Linked DNA regions of Homo sapiens: region 1 is linked to region 2. The links are contacts of gene promoters, found by promoter capture Hi-C in human tissues and cell types (Jung and others, 2019). All regions are on one chromosome and are shown on one strand. Each heading gives the region's core, a stretch centred on a gene start or on the middle of the fragment in contact. The rest is flanking DNA. Distances are from core to core; before and after follow the strand shown.

The links. The method cuts DNA at HindIII sites, captures the fragments that hold promoters and counts their contacts. A contact is called where the count stands out against the background at its distance.
Region 1: the fragment with the promoter of TMEM160 here is called in contact with the fragment with the promoter of GIPR in region 2 in 1 of the 25 tissues and cell types used here (heart left ventricle).

Annotation. Positions count from the first base shown.
Region 1 is chr19:47,046,448-47,052,401 of GRCh38, reverse strand. It overlaps TMEM160 (transmembrane protein 160), which reads left to right and starts at 3,778. Exons shown (of 3, transcript NM_017854.2): 1 at 3,778-3,995; 2 at 5,717-5,809. The coding sequence starts at 3,788. RefSeq lists enhancers at 2,318-2,835, 2,836-3,353, 3,477-3,771, 4,281-4,350 and a silencer at 3,811-4,000. The HindIII fragment of the contact is 17,900 bases long and covers 1-5,954 here.
Region 2 is chr19:45,663,205-45,669,470 of GRCh38, reverse strand. It overlaps GIPR (gastric inhibitory polypeptide receptor), which reads right to left and starts at 1,250. Exons shown (of 14, transcript NM_000164.4): 1 at 1,173-1,250. RefSeq lists an enhancer at 546-825 and a silencer at 1,206-1,365. The HindIII fragment of the contact is 19,339 bases long and covers 1-6,266 here.

The DNA.
Region 1 (5,954 bases), core at 2,529-5,028, 1.4 Mb before region 2:
CAACCAAATTGTTTTGCCTATCCACCCCATGGTGCCAAACCCATATACTCTCCTATCCTCAATACCTCCCTCCACAACCCATTATTCTGTTCTGGATCTCAAACATGCTTTCTTTACTATTCCTTTGCACCCGTCATCCCAGCCTCTCTTCGCTTTCACTTGGACTGACCCTGACACCCATTAGGCTCAGCAAATTACCTGGGCTGTACTGCCGCAAGGCTTCACAGACAGCCCCCATTACTTCAGTCAAGCCCAAATTTCATCCTCATCTGTTACCTATCTCAGCATAATTCTTCATAAAAACACACGTGCTCTCCCTGCTGATCGTGTCCAATTAATCTCCCAAACCTCAATCCCTTACAAAACAACTCCTTTCCTTCCTAGGCATGGTTAGTGTGGTCAGAATTCTTACACAAGAGCCAGGACCGCACCCTGTAGCCTTTCTGTCCAAACAACTTGACCTTACTGTTTTAGCCTAGCCCTCATGTCTGCATGCAGCGGCTGCCGCTGCTTTAATACTTTTAGAGCCCTAAAAATCACAAACTATGCTCAACTCACTCTCTACATTTCTCATAACTTCCAAAATCTATTTTCTTCCTCATACCTGACGCATGTACTTTCTGCTCCCCGGCTCCTTCAGCTGCACTCACTCTTAAGTCCCACAATTACCATTGTTCCTGGCCCGGACTTCAATCTGGCCTCCCACATTATTCCTGATACCACACCTGACCCCCATGACTGTATCTCTCTGATCCACCTGATATTCACCCCATTTCCCCATATTTCCTTCTTTCCTGTTCCTCACTCTGATCACGCTTGATTTATTGATGGCAGTTCCACCAGGCCTAATCGCCACACACCAGCAAAGGCAGGCTATGCTATAGTACAAGCCATGAGCCCGCCTCTTAGAACCTCTCATTTCCTTTCCATCGTGGAAATCTGTCCTCAAGGAAATCACTTCTCAGTGTTCCATCTGCTGTTCTACTACTCCTCAGGGATTATTCAGGCCCCCTCCCTTCCCTACACATCAAGCTCAGGGATTTGCCCCCACCCAGGACTGGCAAATTAGCTTTACTCAACATGCCCCGAGTCAGGAAACCAAAATACCTCTTAGTCTAGGCAGACACTTTCACTGGATAGGTACAGGCCTTTTCTACAAGGTCTGAGAAGGCCACCGCAGTCATTTCTTCCCTTCTGTCAGACATAATTCCTCAGTTTAGCCTTCCCACCTCTATACAGTCTGATAACAGACCAGCCTTTATTAGTCAAATCAGCCAAGCAGTTTTTCAGGCTCTTAGTATTCAGTGAAACCTTTATATCCCTTACGGTCCTCTGTCTTCAAGAAAAGTAGAACGGACTAAAGGTCTTTTAAAAACACACCTCACCAAGCTCAGCCACCAACTTAAAAAGGACTGGACAATACTTTTACCTCTTTTGCTTCTCAGAATGCTGCAGGGTACAGCCTATTTGAGCTCCTGTATGGACAATCCTTTTTATTAGGCCCCAGTCTCATTCCAGACACCGGACCAACTTAGACTGTGCCCCAAAAAAACTTGTCATCCCTACTATTTTCTGTCTAGTCATACTCCTATTCTCCGTTCTCAACTACTCATACGTGCCCTGCTCTTGTTTACACTGCTGGTTTACACTGTTTCTCCAAGCCATCACAGCTGATATCTCCTCATGCTATCCCCAAACTGCCACTCTTAACTCCTGAAGTAAACAAATAATCTTTGCTGGCAGGACTATGCTGAATCTCCTTAGGCACTCTCTAATCAGATGTCCTAGGTCCTCCCAATTCTTAGACCTTTTATACCTGTTTTTCTCCTTCTCTTATTCCATTTAGTTTTTCAATTCATACAAAACTGTACCCAGGCCATCACCAATACTTCTACACAACAAATGTTTCTTCTAACAACCCCACAATATCACCCCTTACCACAAAATCTTCCTTCAGCTTAATCTCTCCCACTTTAGGTTCGCACGCCGCCCCTAATCCTGCTTGAAGCAGCCCCGAGAAACATCGCCCATTCTCTCTCCATACCACCCCCCAAGACTTCAACACTATTTTGTTTTATTTTTCTTATTAATAAAAGAAGGCAGAAATGTCAGGCCTCTGAGCCCAAGCCAAGCCATCGCATCACCTGTGACTTGCACGTATACATCCAGATGGCCTGAAGTAACTGAAGATCCACAAAAGAAGTAAAAATAGCCTTAACTGATGACATTCCACCATTGTGATTTGTTCCTGCCCCACCTAACTGATCAATGTACTTTGTAATCTCCCCCACCCTTAAGAAGGTTCTTTGTAATTCTCCCCACCCTTGAGAATGTACTGTGTGAGATCCACCCCTGCCCGCAAAACATTGCTCTTAACTTCACCGCCTATCCCAAAACCTCTAAGAACTAATGATAATCCACCACCCTTTGCTGACTCTCTTTTCGGACTCAGCCTGCCTGCAGCCAGGTGAAATAAACAGCCATCTTGCTCACACAAAGCCTGTTTGGTGGTCTCTTCACATGGACGCGCATGAAACGATTCTCCTGCCTCAGCCTCACAAGTAGCTGGGATTACAGGTGCCTGCCACCATGCCTAATTTTTGTATTTTTAGTAGAGATGGGGTTTCACCATGTTGGTCAGGCTGGTCTCGAACTCCTGATCTCGTGATCTGCCCGCCTCAGACTCCCAAAGTGGTGGGATTACAGATGTGAGCCACCGTGCCTGGCCCGGGCTTGGATTTTATGAAGAGGAAAAGTAGGGGAGCTAGCAAGGGGGTTACACTTGAGGAGGGAGTTCAAATGGACTGCACTGCATAGCCTGCAGGCTTGCAATGAATGTGAAGCTTTAAATGGGATTAAGTGCAAATTGAAAATATTCCAGACACATTTTTCACATTCCTGGCTAGTGAAAAGGTTTATGCTGATGAGAGAAGGCAAAGCTGAATCCCGGAATGGGTTAGGGCAAAGAAAACAAATCTGTCTTAAAGAGACAGACCTGGCCGGGCACGGTGGCTCACGCCTGTAATCCCAGCACTTTTGGAGGCCGAGGCGGTTGGATCACTTGAGGTCAGGAGTTCGAGACCAGCCTGGCCAACATGGTGAAACCCTGTCTCTACTAAAGATACAAAAATTAGCTGGGCGTGGTGGCGCATGCCTATAATCCCAGCTACTCAGGAGGCTGACGCAGGAGAATCGCTTGAACCCGGGAGGTGGAGGTTGCAGTGAGCCGAGATCGCACCACTGCACTCCAGCCTGGGCGACAGAGCAAGACTCGGTCTCGGGGCGGGGAAAAAAAAGGAAGGAGGGAAGGAAGGAAGGAGGGGAGGGAAGGGAGGGAGGGAGGGAAAAAGAAAGAGAGAAAGAAAGAAAGAAGGAAAGAAAGAAAGAGAAAGAAAGAAAAAGAAAGAAAGAAAGAAAGAGAAAGAAAGAAAGAGAAACAACCAAGAAACAACTACAATAGGTGCTCGGCATGTACTCCGTTAAAAAAGATAGAATTAAAACTACAATTCCCAGCAGACATCTCGCCTGCGACTTCTGAATATCGGCTTTCCCCGAGCGCAATGATCGCTGGGATTCGTAGTCCGGTACAAAATCAAGGAGGGACGGGCACTACCGGCCTAGATGACAGAGGAGGGAATCACTGCCATTCCGACCAATGGACAGTTCACGCCGGACCTGAGTGGCGAGCGCATAGCCAATGGGTAAGCCATTCATCCTGAGTGACATGGGTTGCAACCTACCGGAGGCCGGTGGGGCGGTACGGCGCGCGGCGGCCGTAGTGCGAATCATGGGAGGCGGCTGGTGGTGGGCTCGGGCCGCTCGCCTTGCCCGTCTTCGCTTCCGGAGGTCGCTACTGCCGCCTCAGCGGCCCCGGAGCGGGGGCGCCCGGGGGTCCTTCGCCCCCGGCCACGGTCCCCGCGCCGGGGCTTCGCCGCCCCCAGTGTCCGAGCTGGATCGTGCGGACGCCTGGCTCCTCCGAAAAGCGCACGAGACAGGTCGGTGGCTAGGGGTGGGGGCGGTGCGGATGGGACGGGGGTCCCGGGCTCGCGTGGGACCTTGATGGGGCGGGGGCTTCTGCAGGAAACGGGGCCCGGGCTCGGCTCCGAGAAGGGCTTCAGTGTGAGCGCACGGAAGCGCAGACTGCAAGAGCGCAGGTGCCCGCAGAGGGGATGGGCTTGCGGGGAGGACGAGGACCCCGGGTAACGGGGCGCCGTAGGGATTGGAGGGGGTGGTAGGGTTGCGCGAGGCAGCCTCGTAGAATCGCGCCTGCCGTGGGGAGAGGGGCTTCAGGGAGAGCTTAGGGTCTGTGGAGTTGGGTACAAGATGGGTCCATCCCGATTGCAGAGGCCACCACTGTGCAGAGAGCGGGAGTGTGGATCCCCGCAGAAGAGGGGGAAGTTCAGGATTGGAGAAGGGGACAACCAATCGGGAGAAAGCTCTCTGCTGATTGGAGGGGGAGGTGATCTAGGCTGCAGAGGGCGGGGCTTGTGACGGAGGCGAGGTCCAGAATGGAGCGGACTGGCCATGTTTGTTTTTTTTTTAATTTTATTTTTTTAATGACGGTGTCTTGCTCTGTCACCGAGGCTGGACCGCAGTGGCGCAATCGTAGCCCACTGCAGCCTTGAACTCCTGGGCTCAAGCTATCCTCTTGCCTCAGCCTCCTGCTTAGCTGGAGCTACAGGCATACACCACCGCACCCAACTATTTTAATTTATGTAGAGACGGGGTCTTGCTTTGTTGCCCAGGCTGGTCTGAACTCTTGGGCTCAGAGAATCCTCCTGCCTTGGCTTCCCAAAGTGCTGGGATTATAGGTGTGAGTCACCTCACTAGGCCAGGACCGGGCATCTAGATATAGGGTGTGGTGGGCTGTTTGTAAAGGACGTGAATGGGGACGGACGTGGGTGGGATTGGCCCAGGCCATACTCGGTAGGACATGGATGGGATTGGCCCAGGCCATACTCGGTAGGAGATGGCGGCATTTGAAGGAAAAGAAGGGCGAGGCTGAAGAGCGGCCTGGATTAGGAAACAGTTTGTCCCAGAGTTCTGAGAAAGAAGTGAGTGGGCAGGCCGTGGGGGTACACGTAGAGGGAGGGGTTTGGCCAAGATGACTCCTCAGATGGAGGTTCTGCAACTTTGCCCCTAGATTGTCCTCCACATTCTGCAGGGACTATCTTGAATCCTTTATTTTTTTTGAGACGGAGTCTCACTCTGTCGCCCAGGCTGGAGTGCAGTGGCATGATCTTGGCTCGCTGCAACCTCTACCTCCTGGATTCAAGTGATTCTCCTCCCTCAGCTTCCTGAGTAGCTGGGACTACAAGCACGTGCTACCACACCCTGCTAATTTTAACATTTTTAGTAGAGACAGGGTTTGACTATGTTGGCCAGGCTGGTCTCAAACTCCTGACCTCATGATCCGCCTGCCTTGGCCTCCCAAAGTGCTGGGATTACAGGGGTGAGCCACCACACCCGGCCCTTGAATCCTTAGTGTTACAGAGTTTGGGGGAGAGGGGCACTGAGGTGGAGGCCAGAGAGGATGTGGGGGGATATGGTTAGGTGAGCGGCTTCCTGGAAGAGGTGAGGATTTGGGATGGGCTTGCCTTGCGGCTGGATGGGATGGGGTGAGCTGAAGGGAGGCCCCTCAGTTTGACTGGGTAAGGGGGATTGAGGAGGTAGGGTTGGGGGTGATGTTAATCCCCCCATGTCCCCCTCCCTCCAGCCTTCCTCTCCTGGTTCCGCAATGGCCTCCTGGCATCGGGCATCGGGGTCATCTCCTTCATGCAGAGTGACATGGGTCGGGAAGCAGCATATGGTGAGTGCAGACCCCCCCTCTCGCCCCACGGAACCAGGGAATGCAGAGCCCCTATCACCTGCCCTGGTGAGAGTAGACTCTCCTACCCCATCCCACTCCCAGTAGTAAGTATAGAACCCCCATTCTTCCCCCACCAGAAGACACC
Region 2 (6,266 bases), core at 1-2,500:
GGTCCCAGGGCAAGGTCAGCACCTCTGCCCTCCTACTCCAACCCCAGCGTCACCCCGCCTCAGGGATTCACACACAGGGGCAGACGGCTGGGGAGCCGTATACACGCGGGACTCCGAGGCAGCGCACCCGCTCCCGCAACTCCCAGGCGTGATGATCTGGGGGGAGGGAGAGGCACGCGGAGTGGGTGGAACTCCGGTGGTGGGCGGGGCCCCTTAAGTGATTCCCCGGCCTCCCCTGACTGTTGTTGGGGCAGCAAAGGTGGAAGGGGGGGGTGTTTGCTGAGCGGGCGGTTGCCCTAGAGCTACGCTGGGCGGAAGTGTCAGTGTCACCGAAGTCTGGACCTACAGACTCCTGGGAACCCGGGGACCGCCTTGGAGAGGAGGGGGTAGAAACCGTCAGCCTAGACCCCTTTTCTATGGGGAACTGAAAAACTTGAAGGTTTTCAGTACCCCCTAGTGGGGTACTTGAAACGCCCATCTGAGTTCCCACAGCCTGGTGGAGAACTTGAAACGCCCATCCGAGCTCCCACTCTCCAAGCCCAAAGGGTTTTCTAGCACACATAGGAACCTGACCTTACAAAACTTTCCCCGCTGGGGGTAGATAAAGCCCAGAGTAAGTGGAACAACCCTTTCCCAGCATCCAAATACTTAGGGACTAGAGAAGCGACAGATCCGGGGTTAGATGTGCAGATGCCTGGAAATCGGTCTAACGCCCGACACCCACTCACCCGCGCCCCCGCGGCTCCACGTAGAGAAAGACGGAAGCAGAGAGGATCTCAGGTCGAGCCTCAGAAGGACAGACAACGGCGTCACAGACACAAGAGACAGAAATGTAAAGACTGAGAGGCGCAGAGACGGAGGGACAGAATGAGACCCCCAGCCAGAGACCAGAGAAAAACAAACAGAGAAAGAGACGCAGATGTGGGCTAGGAGACAAAGAAGAGGCAGAGACGTGGAGGGAGACAGAGCAGGGGAAAGAGAAGTTATCTAGCAGCTAACCAGAGATGGAAACACGCAGACAGAGACATCAAGAGACAGAGATGAGCAGAGATGGTGGTGGGCACAGAGACAGAGAGACAAAGGCAGGGCAGAGAAGCAGAGAGGGAGAGTGCCAGAGACTTGAGAGGTCAAGGGGGGGCAGGGAGAATGGGCTGGGATTGGGGAGCCCTCACCTGTCCCCAGTCCTGCTCCTGGTCACTTGCTCCTGCAGCCCCTGCCACCGCTGCCTCCAACTGCCTTGTCTCGGCTCTGGGAGAGGTGACAGGCGCTGGCAGCCCGGGGTGATGGGAGGGGGCGGGGCCAAGGCGGGACAGGGAACGGAAGCGGGGAGCTCTGGGGCAGAGAGCCGAGCAGGGGGCAGTCATCAAGGTCATGAGGGAGGGCAGTTACTGAATTGTCCTTATCGTCCTGAGGACCCCTGCACCAAGTGTGTACAATCTCTCATGCTGTCCCACCCACAGGTACCCGCCCCCACCGCCACTCATTCCCAGAGCCTCAGTCACTCAATCAAACATGCAGTGTCACACACAATCCCATAGGCTGAGCCATGGAAAGGCACAGTCACAGAACCTCACAAGCTGTTACTCACACAGTCACACATTCAGTCACACCCATACAGTCCCATGGTCACACCCAGACAGCCACAGTCTCTCACTCACAGGTGGACAGTCATCCACTGTGACACACAGTCATGTACCCAGGGCTATGGACTCCTGCACACACACAGTAACGCTCACAGTGTCTCACAGTTCCAACAACACTGTCAATCACCCACACATTCACGCAATCACCGGGTTTCATCACAAACACTGTTGCCCTGCTAGCCTGTGTGGCCCAGGAGGGTAGAGCCAGGACATCTGGGTCACCACTGGGTCCCCAAAATCGTTAAGAGCAGGGGTTCAAGGAAGGATTGTCATGAAATAAATATACGCAGTATGCAGTTGTGTGGTTACTCGCAGACATAGAATTTTTTTTTTTTGAGACAGAGTCTTCCTCTGTTGCTGAGGCTGGAGTACAGAAGCATGATCTCAGCTCACTGCAACCTCCGCCTCCTGGGTTCAAGCAATTCTCCCACCGCAGCCTCCCAAGTAGCTGGGATTCCAGGCACACACCACCACAACCGACTAATTTTTGTATTTTTAGTAGAGACGGTGTTTCACCATGTTGCCCAGGCTGGTCTCAAACTCCTGACCTCAGGTGTTCCACATGTCTTGGCCTTCCAAAGTGGTGGGATTACAGGCGACAGCCACCACACCCGGCCCATACAATCCTTTTTACATTTTATTTATTTATTTATTTATGAGAGTGGAGTGCACTGGAACAATTATAGCTCACTGCAGCCTCCACTTCCTGGGCTCAAGGGATCCTCTTAACTCAGCCTCTTGACTAGCTGGGACTATGGGCATGAGCCACCATGCCCCACCATTTTATTAAAAAATAATTTCAACTTTTTTTTTTTTGAGACAGGGTCTCACTCTGTCACCCAGGATGGAGTGCAGTGGCGCCATCTTGGCTCACTTCAACCTCCGCCTCCAGGGTTCAGGAGATTCTCCTGCCTCAGCCTCCCGAGTAGCTGGGACTACAGGTGTGTGCCACCACACCCAGCTAAAATTTTTGTATTTTTAGTAGAGATGGGGTTTCACCATGTTGGCCATGCTGGTCTCCAACTCTTGGCCTCAAGCAATCCTCCTGCCTCGGCCTCCCAAAGTGCTGGGACTACAGGGATGTGCCATCACACCCAGCCTCAACTTTTATTTATTTATTTATTCATTTATTTTAATTCATTTTATTTATTATTTTTTCTAGACAGGGTCTCACTCTGTCACCCAGGCTGGAGTGCAGTGGCGCCAACTTGGCAACCTCTGCCTCTTGGGTTCAGGCGATTCTCATGCCTCAACCACCAGAGTAGCTGGGACTACAGGTGTATGCCACCACGCCTGGCTGATTTTTATATTTTTAGTAGAGATGAGGTTTCACCATGTTGGCCATATTGTTCTCCAACTCCTGGCCTCAAGTGATCCTCCCGCCTTGGCCTCCCAAAGTGCTGGGATTACAGGTATGAACCACCGCGCCTGGCCTTAACTTTTATTTTAGATTCAGGGGGCACATGTGCAGGTTTGTCACGGGGGTGTATTGCACGATGCGGAGGTTGGGGGTATAAATGATCCCATCATCCAGGTAGTGAGCATGGCACCCAACGGGTAGTTTTTTAACCCTTGTCTCCTTCCCTGCCCCCTCTAGGAGTCCCCAGTGTCTGTTGTTCGCATGTTGGTGTCCATGTGTACCCAGTGCTCAGCTCCCACTTATAAGTAAGAGCATCTGGTGTTTGGATTTCTGTTCCTTTGTTAATTCACTTAGGATACTGGCCTCCAGCTGCATCTGTGTTGCTGCAAAGGACTTTCCTTTCCTTTTCCTCTCCCCTCTCCCCTCTCCCCTCCCCCCTCCCTTCCTCCCTTTCTCCCTTTCTCTCTTTCTTTCTTGGGATGGAGTCTCACTCTGTCGCCCAGGCTGGAGTGCAGTGGCACGATCTCAGCTCACTGGAACCTCTGCTTCCCAGGTTCAAGCAGTTCTCCTGTCTTAGCCTCCCAAGTAGCTGGGATTACAGGCGCCCGCAACCATGCCCGGCTAATAATTTTTTTTTTTTTTTTGGCCGAGTCTCCCTCTGTAGCCCAGGCTGGAGTACAGTGGCGTGATCTTGGCTCACTGCAATCTCCACCTCCCGGGTCCTGGTTCAAGCAATTATCCTGCCTCAGCCTCCCGGGTAGCTGGGATTACAGGCACGCGCCACCATGCCCAGCTAATTTTTGTATTTTTAGTAGAGACAAGTTTTCACCATGTTGGCCAGGCTGGTCTTGAACTCCTGACCTCGTGATCCTCCCGCCTCAGTCTCCCAAAGTGCTGGGATTACAGGCGTGAGCCACTGTGGCTGGCTTTTTTTTTTTTTTTTTTTTTTAGAAGAGATGGGGTTTCACTATGTTGGCCAGGCTGGTCTCAAATTCCTGACTTCAGGTGATCTGCCTGCCTCAGCCTCCCAAAGTGCTGGAATCACAGGCATGAGCCACTGTGCCCGACTCTTTTTTTTTTTTGAGACAGAGTCTTGCTGTGTCACTCAGGCTGGAGTGCAGTGGCGTGATCTCAGCTCACTGCAAGCCTCGCCTCCCAGGTTCACGCCATTCTCCTGCTTCAGCCTCCCGAGTAGCTGGGAGTACAGGTGCCCGCCACCATGCCCGGCTAATTTTTTGTATTTTTAGTAGAGACGGGGTTTCACCGTGTTAGCCAGGATGGTCTCGATCTCCTGATCTCGTGATCCACCCGTCTCGGCCTCCCAAAGTGCTGGGATTACAGGCATGAGCCACCGCGCCTGGCCTTTTTTTTTTTTAATGTCTTATTATACAGTCTTTTTATGACACAAGCTGAAAGTCACACACAATGTCATGCAACCACACCCATTAACACCGTCACACACTCACACACTTCACAGTCACCCACAGAGTCCTCAGTCACATTCCAACAACACACATTCCCCAACTGTCATGAGGCAAACACTCTCACACCGTCACCCTCACCCCCACGGTCACACTGAGTGACATGGTCATACAGACTCACAACTCTCCCTTAGTCTCACCCATATTCACAAGTCACATACAGTCATATACATGTCACGCACACAACCTCACTGTCCCATAGCTGTGCACGTCACAGTGACTTGTCACACCCTGCAATCCCACCTCCCACAGTCACGCACAGTCACACAGGTGCACACAGGGTCACACACACCATCGTGTCACAATTGCACACTAACCCATAGCCTCACATGGTCTCATCATGACAGTCGCCAGTGAATCACACACATTCTCTGCTGTCTCTACTTCCAGTCTGTTCCTTTGCCCTAAATATGGGGAACATCTGTACGTGACTGGGGGTGGGGGACAGGCTCAGAGCCCAGTCCCAGCTCCCAGCTCTCATCTCCTGTTAATACAAACTCCAATTCCTGCACATTAATCATACAATGGACATTTGTGAGCATGCACTCCCCTGGGACTCTAAGTGGGACAGAGGCGAGTCTGCCCATTTTGTAGAGGAGAAATTAAGGCCCAGAGGCCCCAGGAGGGACAGGGAGTAAGGGGTGGCATGAGGTCTGCACCAGAGGCTGGAAGGAGACAAGTCTCGGGGGAGGCGAGGGTTCTCGCTTCCTGGACTTAGGCTGCCTCCCCGCTCTCTGCCCCACATTCCTGGTGCCCTCCGGGTCCTGGGAAAGGCTCCTGTCCTGGAGTGGAGAGGGAAGGGGGTCTGAGATTGCCCAGCACCTTGGGAGAAGTTTAGGTTGGAAGGGAGTCTCTCCTTGGCCCCAATGAGGGCCTGAGGTCACTCCACAGAGGAAGGCAGTGAGGGGTGGGGAGGCTGTAGAGGGGGAAGGGAGAGGCTGGCAGGGAGGGGGAAGCAGTGGAGAGGAAATGAGCTGGTGGTGTGAAACAGGAAAAGGAGCTAAGAGCCTAGTGTGGTGGCTTACACCTGTAATCCCAGCACTTTGGGAGGCCAACATGGGAGGATCACTTAAGCCCAGGAGTTGGAGACCAGCCTGGGCAACATAGCCAGATCCCGTCTCTAAAAAAAAAATATTTTTTTTTTTCAGTTTTCCAATTAAAAAAAAAAATTTACCTTAAGTTCTGGGATACATGTGCTGAACGTACAGGTTTGTTACATAGGTATGCATATGCCATGGTGGTTTGCTGCATCTATCAACACGTCATCTAGAATTAAAAACAAAATTTTTGTTTTTTTTGAGACAGAGTTTCACTCTGTCGCCCAGGCTAGGGCAGAGATTGCAGTGAGCCAGGTTCAAGTGATTCTCCTGCCTCAGCCTCCCGAGAGGCTGGGATTACAGGCACCTGCCACCATGCCTGGCTATTTTTTTTTTTTTGTACTTTTAGCAGAGTTGGGTTTTCACCAAATTGGTCAGGCTGGTCTTGAACTCCTGACTTCAGGTGATTGGCCTGCCTCAGCCTCCCACAGTGCTGGGATTATAGGCATGAGCCACTGCGCCTGGCCAATTTTTTTTTTTTTTTGAGATGGAGTTTTGCTCTTGTTGCCCAAGCTGGAGTGCAATGGCACGATCTCGGCTCACGGCAACATCTGCCTCCTGGGTTCAAGTGATTCTCCTGCCTCCGCCTCCCAAGTAGCTGGGATTACAGGTGCGCACCACCATGCCCAGCTAAGTTTTTGTATTCTTAGTAGAAATGGGGTTTCACCATGTTAGCCATGGCTGG